Linked DNA regions of Homo sapiens: all the other regions are linked to region 3. Evidence: promoter capture Hi-C in 16 types of primary human blood cells and fetal thymus (Javierre and others, 2016). All regions are on one chromosome and are shown on one strand. The core of a region is centred on a gene start or on the middle of the fragment in contact, and the rest is flanking DNA. Distances in the headings are between cores, read along the strand shown. Region 1 has its middle 26 kb from the start of LINC02458. Region 2 has its middle 120 kb from the start of DUSP6. Region 3 holds the start of RLIG1 (RNA 5'-phosphate and 3'-OH ligase 1).

Region 1 (3,575 bases), core at 925-3,424, 1.0 Mb after region 3:
ATTTATATAAAGTCTAAAAGCAGGCAAAACTAATCTATGTTGACAGCAGTCAGGATAGTGATTAACTTTAGGGTGGTGGGGGTGCTTCTAGGGTGCTGACAGTGCTCTATTTCTTGATGTGGGGTACAGTTGCATAAGCATATTCAATTCATAAAAACTCATTGAAATGTACATTTATAATTTATGCTTGGTGTCATGAGACAGAGTAATCATATACTCTAGGAAGAATATATTCAATGGGAAGGGAGCTCAGGGACTCCCACTTCAACTCAGCCTGTGAACCAGTTGCCCTTAGATGTCTACCCAGAATCTACAGGAGAAGGATTTGCACCCTTTCTATGTGCTTCTGTTGTTACGTGTATTCTTTCATAGTGATTGTCAGCTTCCATAGGTGTCTCCCTCAATGTACCACAGGCCACTTGAGGGCAGAGACTGCTTCTTTTATTTCTAACTTTCCCAAGATTAGCATTGTATATGACAAGTGAATGGTTTTCAATAACTCTGAATCAAAGAATAAATCCCTGACCTGTAAGAAGTACCCATCTCTTTCTCTCCTCATATTTTTTTTTCTTTCTCTCTTCCTCCAGTTTTTCCTTCCAGCCAGGGGAACCTCTATTAGACAGCAGCTTTCATGTCTCTTTTGATAAGAACCATTATTAACAGTCTAAACTGAAACAGTGGCCAAGTCCACTTCAAAGTGTACCCAAAGTACATACCATGATTTACTCTCTAATTAGACAAAAGTTTCCATTGAAGAAATTCACTGATTTGTTGCTTAAGCAGCAAGCATCTGCAGTTAATGGGGTCTTTCAGGACGGTGGGTATAGCTTCTAGAGAATCATCCACGTTATGTGAAGTGGAAGATCAACAAATTCAACAGCTGATAACAACACAATGCACTTCACCTGAGGACAAACAACTACAACTAAGGCACTTTACAGGCTGTCATGAATGATCTGCAAAATGCCCCCAACAGGGGAAGGAGGGTCCTGAAATACGAGCTCAGTATCGGATGAGCACTTGCTTATGGTGCACAAGTACTAGTCTACAATTCTTTGCACACGGTATATTAAACATTAAGGTATAATTGGCTGAAAATGGCATTAAGCTGTAGAATTTTTTTCTATAGAAATACCCATATGTGCAAAATGATATGTGAAAAAAAAGTTCATAGAATCATTTGGAATAGGGAAAATTGGAATCAATTGCAATGCTTATTATTAATAGAATGTTCAAATTACGGTACTGTCATTTTATGAAGTAATAAGTAGCGGTTAAAAGAGCATAGGATGCCTCTATATGTATCAGCATGGAATTATATGAAATATCCAGAGAAAATACTGCAGAACTATATGTAATTTCCAATTATATGAAATTTTTAAATACAGAAATATGTTTATAAAATGCATAGAAAAACATCTGGAAAGATTTATACCAAAAGTTGATGGCGGTTATATCAGAGAGAAAGAGTTAGAGAAATGAGAAAGAGAGCCAGGAATGGAAGGAATGACATTTTGCTTTTTCTTATTTATATTTCTGATTTGCTTAAATCTTTTATAATGAGCTTATACTGCATGATAATGCTTAAAATCTTTAAGGTATTAGATTACTTTAGAAATGAGTTTGAAATAATCTTCATTGCTTACCTTGGATATTTATTCCATCTTCCTATGTACCAACCATTTGACTAACAGTAAAATAGAGATAATAATTACTACTTCACAGTGTGGTAGCAGGAAATGATCTATGTAAAGCTTTCAGCCCAATTTCTGCTACTGATAAAATTTATTTGTACAAGTTGATTATTGCTGTTTGTAATAAAGCATGCCAAAAATCAGTAGTTCAAAACAATGACCATTTATTATTGCTCATGTAACTATAACTTTGCTGGAGATTGGCTGGTACAAACGGGGTTTATCTGGGCTGCTGTCTTGAGTTTGGCTGTGCTCTACACACCAACATCCTACTTGGATCAACGTGATAATCAGAGCATGTACTTATGGTGACAGCAGAAGCACAGATAGGGCAAACATGCAAAGTCTATTAAGGAATAGGTTTAGAACTGACACACTGTAATTTCTACCTCATCCTATTGGCCAAATATAACACAAGACCTATCTCACAGCAAAGGGATATAGAAATACACTTCACTAAGAGTGACCAACCATCTCAGATTGCCCAGGACTTGGGGGGCTTCCAGAATGCAGAAATTTCCATAGTAAAACCAGGAAAGTCCTTGGGTAAATCTGGACTGGCTGGCCACTCAACATGTCTCTCTATTTAGTGAGATGAATTTCAAAGTTACCCAGCAACAAGTATGGAAAGGGATGGGATCAAGACTCAAGGCCAGCGATGCAATCCACTACACCTTTAATACTGTCATAATCTCAGCAACTAGAAAAACAGGCAAATAGTAGGTGGTCCAAATTAATTTTGGTAGATTGATTTTAAGTTGGCTGAACAACATCAGATCCCCCTAAACTCTCCATCAACAGAATATTTCCCAGAATAGACTCCTCAAATAAAAGGGTATTAAAGATGTTTCTGTAGTAACGGGGTATAGCATTAGACAGGTGATTAGGATAGATTATTAAAGAAGCTTAAGACTCTTTCAAACCTAATTCTAACTTCATTTGACAGACAATAAGATCAGTCTCTCCAAGACCAATGAAAATTGTTAATATCAATCTCCTTTCCTTCTAGGGAGAATATTTTGCTTATAACAGACTCTTACCAGGGGCAGGTTGTCTGACTTCTAATCATTTGCTTGTATGTGATCATGAATATTTATTTAGCCCCCTCAGCTTTACTAATCCTTTTCAAACGCAGGGACCCGTTGTGGGTGTTTGTTCCCAGAGGTTAAATCCACAGAGCCAGGGGGAGCTCCACTCTGCCTGTTGTTTCCCTATACCCACTATTCCTCTTCCTGTCTAGACTATACATTTCTCCTCTGAAGACAGATCCTTATGGATAAGATCAATGCATAGGCACGAATCAGAAAGATTTCTCTCAATTTACAACCATTTTCTTTATCTGAAATGCATCAAAGAAGAAAGACTATTAAAGCCTGCAAGTGTTAGGGTTTTTAAATTTAAAAAAATAATAATAAGGAAAAGCAGGACTCTAGACATCCCATAATGGGAATGGGCAGCTAAAATATAATACTTTGGGTTCATTTTCATATGAACTTGGATAATAAAACAAAGAAATAATAACATGCAATGAAAACACACTCAAATGAGAGAGCCAACCGGGAGATGACTGTCAAAAAAAGTTTGAGAGTTAAAATGGCAGATAGTTTCAAAGCTTTCAGGAAAATCAATTAGAGCCTAAGTGACCTCTAGGACAAGTATCTGGACACTAGCCACTTTACAAATTCCAATCTAGGCGTGAGTAACAAGTGAATTAAACTGCTTAGAGTTCTATCAATAATCAGGAATGTATAGTTTAGATAGATTACCTTAAATTTTAATCAATAATTTTAAAGGGACCCAGTAATCAGCTTCATTACACTCTACCCAGATGAAGTAAGTGGGGTCAACTAACTAAAATATAAAGGAGTTTTCAACTGCTCA
Region 2 (3,903 bases), core at 489-2,988, 1.2 Mb after region 3:
AAATGTCAACAGGGTTGAGTTATTACCTAAAGACTCTGAGAAGTGACCTGCTTCCATACTCATGTGGTTATTGGCTGAATTCATTTCCTTGTGATTGTAGTACTGAGGTCCCTGTTTCTTTGCTGGCTGGCCCCAAAGGGGCCTCTCTCAGCTCTTAGATACCACTCTCAGTCCTTTCCCATGTGAATTCCTCCACCTTCAAAGTCCACAAAAGAGAATTTCTTTCATACTGAATCCCTCTAATGCTTCAATTCTCTCCAACTTCTGCGATCATCAAGAAGAAAACTGTGCTTTTAAAGAGGTCATGTGCTCAGGTTAGTCCAGCCTAGATAATCTCCTCATTTTAAAGCAAATTGATTAATAAACTTAATTTCATCTGCAAAAATCTCTCTTGCCATATAACATAATCATGGAGTAACACCCAAGAGCATAGATTATGGGGGCTGTCTTAGGATTCTAGTGACAATAAAATTTTAATACTGAGGGTCAGGATGAAAAAACTTAAATCATATTGTAAGGCAGAGCTAGGAAGAATTGTGGCAACCTCCTAACAACTCTTTCTAGTCTCTATTCTTGCTGCCTTCAAATTCAATCTTCATAGAACTGTCTGTATTAAACATCTAAAGCATATTTTGTAAGCTCCTCATTGCCTACAAGATCAAGTTTAAATAACTTAACCTGACCCACAAACCCTCCATGGTTTGACTGGTCTCTCGAGCCTCTTGCCAATTCCATATTCATGCTTTATGCCTCAGAAACACCAAACTGCATATAGTTTCCCTCATTCACCATGATATTTCTCACCTCTGTGCCTTTATTCAAGCTGTGCTCTCCACGGGGACACCCTCTGTGTTCTCACTACCTCTTTATCCAGGTAACTCCTATTCGTTCTTTAATTTTGCTCAAGTGTCACTTCATTTACTCATTCATTTATCCAAAAAAATAACCGTCAAACATCCACTCTGTGCCAGAGACTAGGGTGTAGTGATACATACCCCAGTCTCTGCTTTCAGAGAGCATGCACTGTAGTTTGGAGCATAGGTAATTCAACAAATGATCACAGTCCAGTGAAAAGTACAGTGACTAGAGGGGACCTGGAGCACCTACAACAAGGAACTTAGCCAAAGTCAGATATTTTCTGGAAGAAGTGACATCTAAACCAAGACCCAAAGCATGAGTAGGAATGGTCAAGTAAATGGGAGGAGAAGGGAAGTTTCCAGACAAGGGAATAGCATCATAATACATAAAAACATTCTGTATCAGAAAGAACATAGGTTTTTGTTTTTGTTTTTGTTTTGAGACAGAATGTCACTCTGTCACCCAGGCTGGAGTGCAGTGGCGTGATCTCAGCTCACTGCAACCTCCACCTCCCGGGTTCAAACAATTCTCCTGCCTCAGCCTCCCGAGTAGCTGGGATTACAGACACCTACCACCACGTCCAGCTAATTTTTGTATTTTTGTAGTAGAGAGGGGGTTTCACCATGTTGGCCAGGCTGATCTCAAACTCCTGACCTCATGAGATCCGCCTCGGCCTCCCAAAGTGCTGGGATTACAGGTGTGAGCCACCGCACCTGGCCAGAACATAGTCTTTTGTTTTTGTTTTGTTTTTGTTTTGAGACAGAGTCTTGCTCTGTTGCCCAGGCTGGAGTGCAGTGGTGCAATCTCGGCTCACTGCAAGCTCCGCTCTCCCGGGTTCACGCCATTCTCCTGCCTCAGCCTCCTGAGTAGCTGGGACTACAGGTGCCCGCCACCACAACTGGCTAATTTTTTGTATTTTTAGTAGAGACGGGGTTTCACCGTGTTAGGCAGGATGGTCTCCATCTCCTGACCTCGTGATCCGCCTGCCTTGGCCTCCCAAAGTGCTGGGATTACAGGTGTGAGCCACCGTGCCCGGCCGAACATAGATTTTTTAAGAGAGTCAAAACAGCTCAACCTGACTGGGGTATGGAGTGTTGGAGGCAGTACAGGAGCTTTCCCTTGGGCAACGTGGAGCCAGTGAAAAGTTTAAGGTTAGATTTCTGTTTTAGAGACAGCTCCCCTAACTGGCCTGCAGATAATAGATTGGAGGAGGGACTGACAAGAAGAGAAGAAACCAACAGAGAGGTCTGGGGCAGTCATCCAAAGCAGAGAGGAGAGTGACTGGTTTTATATAGGGGCAACAGAGATTGAAAGAGATGGACAGATTTGAGAGAGAATGCCACCTACAAGAACTTGGTGATGAATCAGATGTTAAGGATGAGGGAGGGTGATGTCCATGTTTCTAGCTTGGGCAACAGGGTGGATGCCAGTGTCTGTCACTGACAATGAGAACATGGGTGGAGAAGCGGTTTTGTGGGGGAAGATAATTGTTGCCACATGGCTTCTGGGATAGCCAGTAATTTACAGAGACTATTTCAATTCTTTCTAGCCCACCTGTATGATTCAACTACATTAAGCAAGAAAAGAAGCCCATTTGTTGAGTGTAGGAGCAAGAAGGGAGAATTTAGAAATGGCACCAGTCACTTCTTCCCCTAATTATCCACCTCTTGGCCCAAGGTAGAAGATTCTCATCATATGGGACTTCTTACTCAGCCTCAGTGAGGACAGAGGAGAATGATGGTGATGACCATTCACATTAGCTCTTTTCTCTGACAGCTGAGCTCTTCCCCCAGATATCTGCCTGGCTCCCTCCCTTCTTGGCTTCGTTCAGGTCTCTGCTTAAACGTCACCTGATTAAAGGGGACTTACCGACCACACTTTATAAAGAGAAAAATCTTTCTCCCACACCCCAGCACTCCCTCATTTGCTTTATTTTTCTCATAGCACTTTTCACCACCTCACAGAATATGTGTGTGTGTGTGTGTGTGTGCATGTTTCTGCTTTAGAAGAATGTAAGTTCCAGCAAGGGCAAGGACTTTATTCACTACTGAATCTCCATCTCTAAAACAGTATTCGGCACATAGTGAGCACCAGTAAATATTTATTGAGTGGATGAATGCAGGAATAAAGTCTGATGCTCAGAAGATTGATCTTGGCTGAAGAAAATTATGTGGAAATCATCAGGATAAAAACGGTATTACAATCATAATAGACAGGCTTTCTCAGGAAGAAAACACAGAGTTACAAGAGATCTCTGGGCAATTCCAACATTTACCAATCCTTAAATGATGAGCTGTAAAGGAAGAGCCTGCAAAACAATGAGAAGGCAGAGGCAAGGAAGGAGAGGGAGAACCAGAAAATTAGGGGAGTCAGAGGAACCAAGGGAGGAAGCTGAGCTTACAGAAAGTGTCAACAGTGGCAAATGCAACCAAGAAGACAAATAAGGAAAAGGCTAGAAAGTTTCCGTTGTATTTAACAACCAAGATGCCATTATTGACCTGGGTTGAGAGCAATTTGAGGGAGAGGTCAAGATGAGGGCCAGATTTTAGTGGACTTGGGACTGAAAGGCAAGAGAGAAAGGATAAAAAAAAGAAGTAGATGAGGGAGGTAGCTGGAGGGATGCTGGACTAAGAAGAGGGATTTTTCTCAAGATAGTGGAGAATTGAACAAATTTAAAGGTTGGTGGGAACGACACAGTAAAGAGGAAGAGGTTTAAGATAAGAGAAAGCAAAAAGATAATCAACACCGGGAGATCTCTAAAGTACAGGAAGGGAGGTTTCCTTCTTCAGGAAGCCTCCTCTGACCTCTGCCTACCCCTCCTCCTCTCCTTCCTCCATACTGCAGAGCTGGTGTCAAGTGTGCTTAGGTCTATTACTGTGCTTATCCAGGGGAATTGTAACTCGGTTTATGTCACTGTCATGCCACTAGGTTATGAGCTTAATTAGGGAAGGGATGACTTCAGATTCACCTTTTTATCACTAAGAACTAGCACAAAATCTGGTACATAAAAAATAATAAATATTTGATGAATGAATGAATGGATGA
Region 3 (3,636 bases), core at 180-2,679:
GACTTAAAAGGTTCTGTGGCAGTTTGGGAGGTGACAGTTGATAGTTGTGAAAGTTGTTGTCTCTGAGATTCGTGAAACACGCCGCTTTTTAGAATGCCTCTGAAAGAACAAAGAAGTCACTGGCACTCGACTATAATATGCTAAAAAGTTTCTGGTTCCAACAGCACACAGCCAGCATCAGGTGTTTTCTTTTTTGATAAATGCAGGCGGGGTGTGATGTGGGAGAACATTTTGTGTTTTCCTGTGAGAAAAAGATAGTAGAAAAGAAAGTAAACACTTTGAAATGGCAAATCTCTTTCTTCCTCCCTCCCCTCTGAATCCAGTAATCAAAAAACTGTGAACTTTTTTTAAATTTTATTTTTTTTCACTGTCAGTATTCAATATAACTGTGAACTTTTTAAAGGAAGATGTTTTATTCTTTGAGAACCCCCTTACTAGTTAGATACCTCTAAGTGAGATATAGTTGTTTAATTTTTCCAAGGGCTAAGTCAGTAACATGCTGGACAGTTGAGTACATGCAGATAAGACAAAGAAATGAGACCTGGGCCTAGTCCAAGCCCATAAAGGATGGCAGTAAAGTCAAAATTCCCCTACAACTTCAGGCTAGGAACTACTACATTCAATGAGATGGAAAGGCTACTATTCCTAAATATTTAGTATTTATTTTATTTAGTCATTGTCCATCTTATCACTTACCCTCAAAATATTCTTTTGAGCAGTAAGTTAAGGCTGTTTTTAGCTCGCAGTTGATTGACTACCATTACTCAAGCCATTTGGGCTGTTGGAGCTCACCTTTAATTAAACAAGATTCTTATGAAAAACTTGAGAATGAAATCTGGTTGTAGGTATTCCTGTACTTTTGGATTAGTCTAAGGCTGAAATTTCGCACTCACTCCGAAAAGAACATCAGAATCATTTCGACCATGCTATGCTGCACAATAAGGAGTAGTTCAAACGACAACTTTTTTTGATCCCAGGTGTTTTATTATAGGGTTTTCTGATAGTCTTACCGGAAAGGAAGTTTTCATTCTGCTTGGGAATCTGGGGATGTCTCTAGCCATTTCTAAACTTCTACAGTGCTTCCCCCACGAACTAAAGATAACAGGCAAGCAGTTTCCATTGGAACTGTGTTAAATCGACATCTGAAATGTTCATTGCTTATAATTTGATCTTATTTAATTTCCCAAAAAATCATTAGTTACTAGGTATTGCTAAGTACCCACGTTCGGGAAACGCATCTTTTTTTTTTTTTTTTCACGGTTATTAAAACCGAGGGTGGGGGGCGGAGGACGCACGTGGGAACCCACCAGGCGCCTCAGCTTCTGCACTACAACTCCCAGAAGGCGCCGCGGCCAGGAAGCCGCTTCTGGACGGGCGTTCCCGCCCCTCGCTGGGCTTGGTAGTTGGGGCGCAGCCGCGGTGGCTGGGCGCGGAGTGTGCGTGGCCTGAGCCGTGCGGGTGACTGCTTCAGGGCTTCTCCGCGACTGGACCGGGCGCCGCTCGAAAGCACGCCCTCCATTCGCACTGCTTGTTGGGCTCATCATGAAGCGCTTGGGCTCCGTGCAGCGGAAAATGCCGTGTGTGTTTGTGACGGAGGTGAAAGAGGAGCCTTCCTCCAAAAGGGAGCATCAGGTACGGAGGAGCGCCGGGCAGGCTTGGCGGCCCGCGTGGGCTCCTCCCCGCGGCGCTGGCTCAGTGCGAACCCGGCGAGGGCGGCTGGGCGCTTTAGAACTGCCCTGCAGGCCAGGAACCTCTGTAGGTTTCCCTGGGGAGGTCTGGGGTGGGAGTTCCGTACGCCCTGAGCTCCAGGTTCTTGTACTTTTCTTAGTTGTGAGGGAGGGAATTTGCGAAAGAATTTTCCTTATCAGGAGATTCAAACTTGTCCTCGCAAGGAAATGGATAACTCACATCCACAGCATGTCCCTTCCTTTTCAGGTCAGCACCTTTTGGGGAAACCCCCTAATCAGGTAATTGCCACAGTCCAAGCTTTACTACTTTTCAAGAGTGCAGTAAGAAAGGGTGGATATTAGAAGACTTGCTTTACCTGTTCTGTCCGAACCAGTGGCGGTGTTGACAGTAGCCTAATTAGGTCACTGAAGTTCACACCTCATATTACCAGTAATTACTTAATTTATTCTAACTTTGGTGTTCTCAAGGTTTTCTGTTGCAGCAACGTGTTTTCCATAGTGTGCCCTCGGTAAATGCTAGTGAGTAACCTATATTTGGGTAATTTTTTCATATTGTACTATAAAACGTTGTAGTCTTTGATCAGTAGAATCCCCAGTGATTAGTTGGGTGCTTCCCAACTTTGCTGATTTCAAACAAAACCAACATGTCCATTGGAAATCCACCTCACTTGAGTTTCATCATTGGCACTGGCTTTCTCGTCTTCTGGACTAAAACTTGTTTAAGGCAAAGATTGCCCTGTTATCTTTAGTCCCAGCTTCTAGGACCTGGCACGTGGTAGGCACTGGATAAATATTTGTTGAATTAAAGAATGAACCCTGGAATCATTTCATGCCAGTTTTCCATTCACCTTGATGCTTTTTACCTTATAGCATCTGATCTTTTCCTGCTTTCTAGTGCTGTCACAGCTGTTACAGTTAATATTTCATGTCCTGCTCATTGCACCACCTAACTGGTCTTACTTGCCACTCAGACTGATCATCACCATGTTCTTTCCTCGTCAGAATACCACAGTTATTACTCAATGTTTGTAGCAGTAATTGGCTTTTTTTTTTAGCTGTAACAAATGTAATCCATATGAAACATTATCATCTGTTTTAGTATTTCACTCTACTGTGATTTTCAACTTCGTATGTTTGAGGGGAGTAGTTTGTGAAAGTATTCTCCACCAGGGAAAATAAGCAGCCCCTTCTCTTACCTCTCTGCAGTTAAGAACAGCTTACAGTATCGTTTATAGCATAGCATCCACATTCTTAATTATAATTCAGGGCCTCCCACTAATGAGGCTCAATCTACCTTCCATCGTCCTTAAAGTGGATTCTGTTTTAACCATCTATTTCATCCTGTGAACATATCAACCACAATCCTGTCTCATATTTTTGCTCAGACTGTTCACTCTGGATCACCTCTAGAGTGTTTTTAATTTTTCAAGTCAGTTCTTCTCCATAAAATCTTATCAATTTAGCCATTTCAGTGATTTCCCCTACCCAGAAATTGTAGAGGGCCACTCAATTGATATTCACTATTTTAATACACGTACCTTGTTTTTCCGGTAATAGTCTAAAGCCTTTTATGACAGGTGGAGAAGGAGAACTTTGTGTACCCCTCAGTGTCTCGTGTTGTCCTTTGGATATGTCGATAGCAAAGAGCAGATGATTGATTTTTATGGAAGGAATGTTTATACTCATCAGGAGCTCCATGGGGCAGAGTAATCTTCCCCCCCACATAGGATCTTTGATAAATTTAGATACACACACACTGCTATTGGACCAGACCCTGTGGCTCTACCACCCTGGGTTAAATTGATATCCTTTGAAACCAGCATCATAAGTTAGTGAAAACCAGTTGTATTTTTAAAGTACTGAATCCCTACTAGACGATTATATTTTAAAAGTATTGAATCAGTACTAGAAGGGGCTAATTTCTTAGTTTACCTGTTTGCAATAGTGC

Evidence for each region. The method cuts DNA at HindIII sites, captures the fragments that hold promoters and counts their contacts. A CHiCAGO score of 5 or more calls a contact.
Region 1: a fragment that was not itself captured here is called in contact with the fragment with the promoter of RLIG1 in region 3 in 1 of 17 cell types (activated CD4 T cells); the score reaches 6.8 in activated CD4 T cells.
Region 2: a fragment that was not itself captured here is called in contact with the fragment with the promoter of RLIG1 in region 3 in 1 of 17 cell types (non-activated CD4 T cells); the score reaches 5.6 in non-activated CD4 T cells.

What each region holds. Positions count from the first base shown.
Region 1 is chr12:89,043,719-89,047,293 of GRCh38, forward strand. No RefSeq gene overlaps it. Among named protein-coding and RNA genes, the nearest start is that of LINC02458, 26 kb to the left of the region's middle. The HindIII fragment of the contact is 845 bases long and covers 1,753-2,597 here.
Region 2 is chr12:89,232,208-89,236,110 of GRCh38, forward strand. No RefSeq gene overlaps it. Among named protein-coding and RNA genes, the nearest start is that of DUSP6, 120 kb to the right of the region's middle. The HindIII fragment of the contact is 5,220 bases long and covers 1-3,903 here.
Region 3 is chr12:88,034,107-88,037,742 of GRCh38, forward strand. It overlaps RLIG1 (RNA 5'-phosphate and 3'-OH ligase 1), which reads left to right and starts at 1,430. Exons shown (of 7, transcript NM_001009894.3): 1 at 1,430-1,632. The coding sequence starts at 1,543. LOC107984542 (a long non-coding RNA gene) reads right to left here and starts at 1,390. Exons shown (of 3, transcript XR_007063395.1): 1 at 1,308-1,390; 2 at 1-241. The HindIII fragment of the contact is 2,128 bases long and covers 1-1,984 here.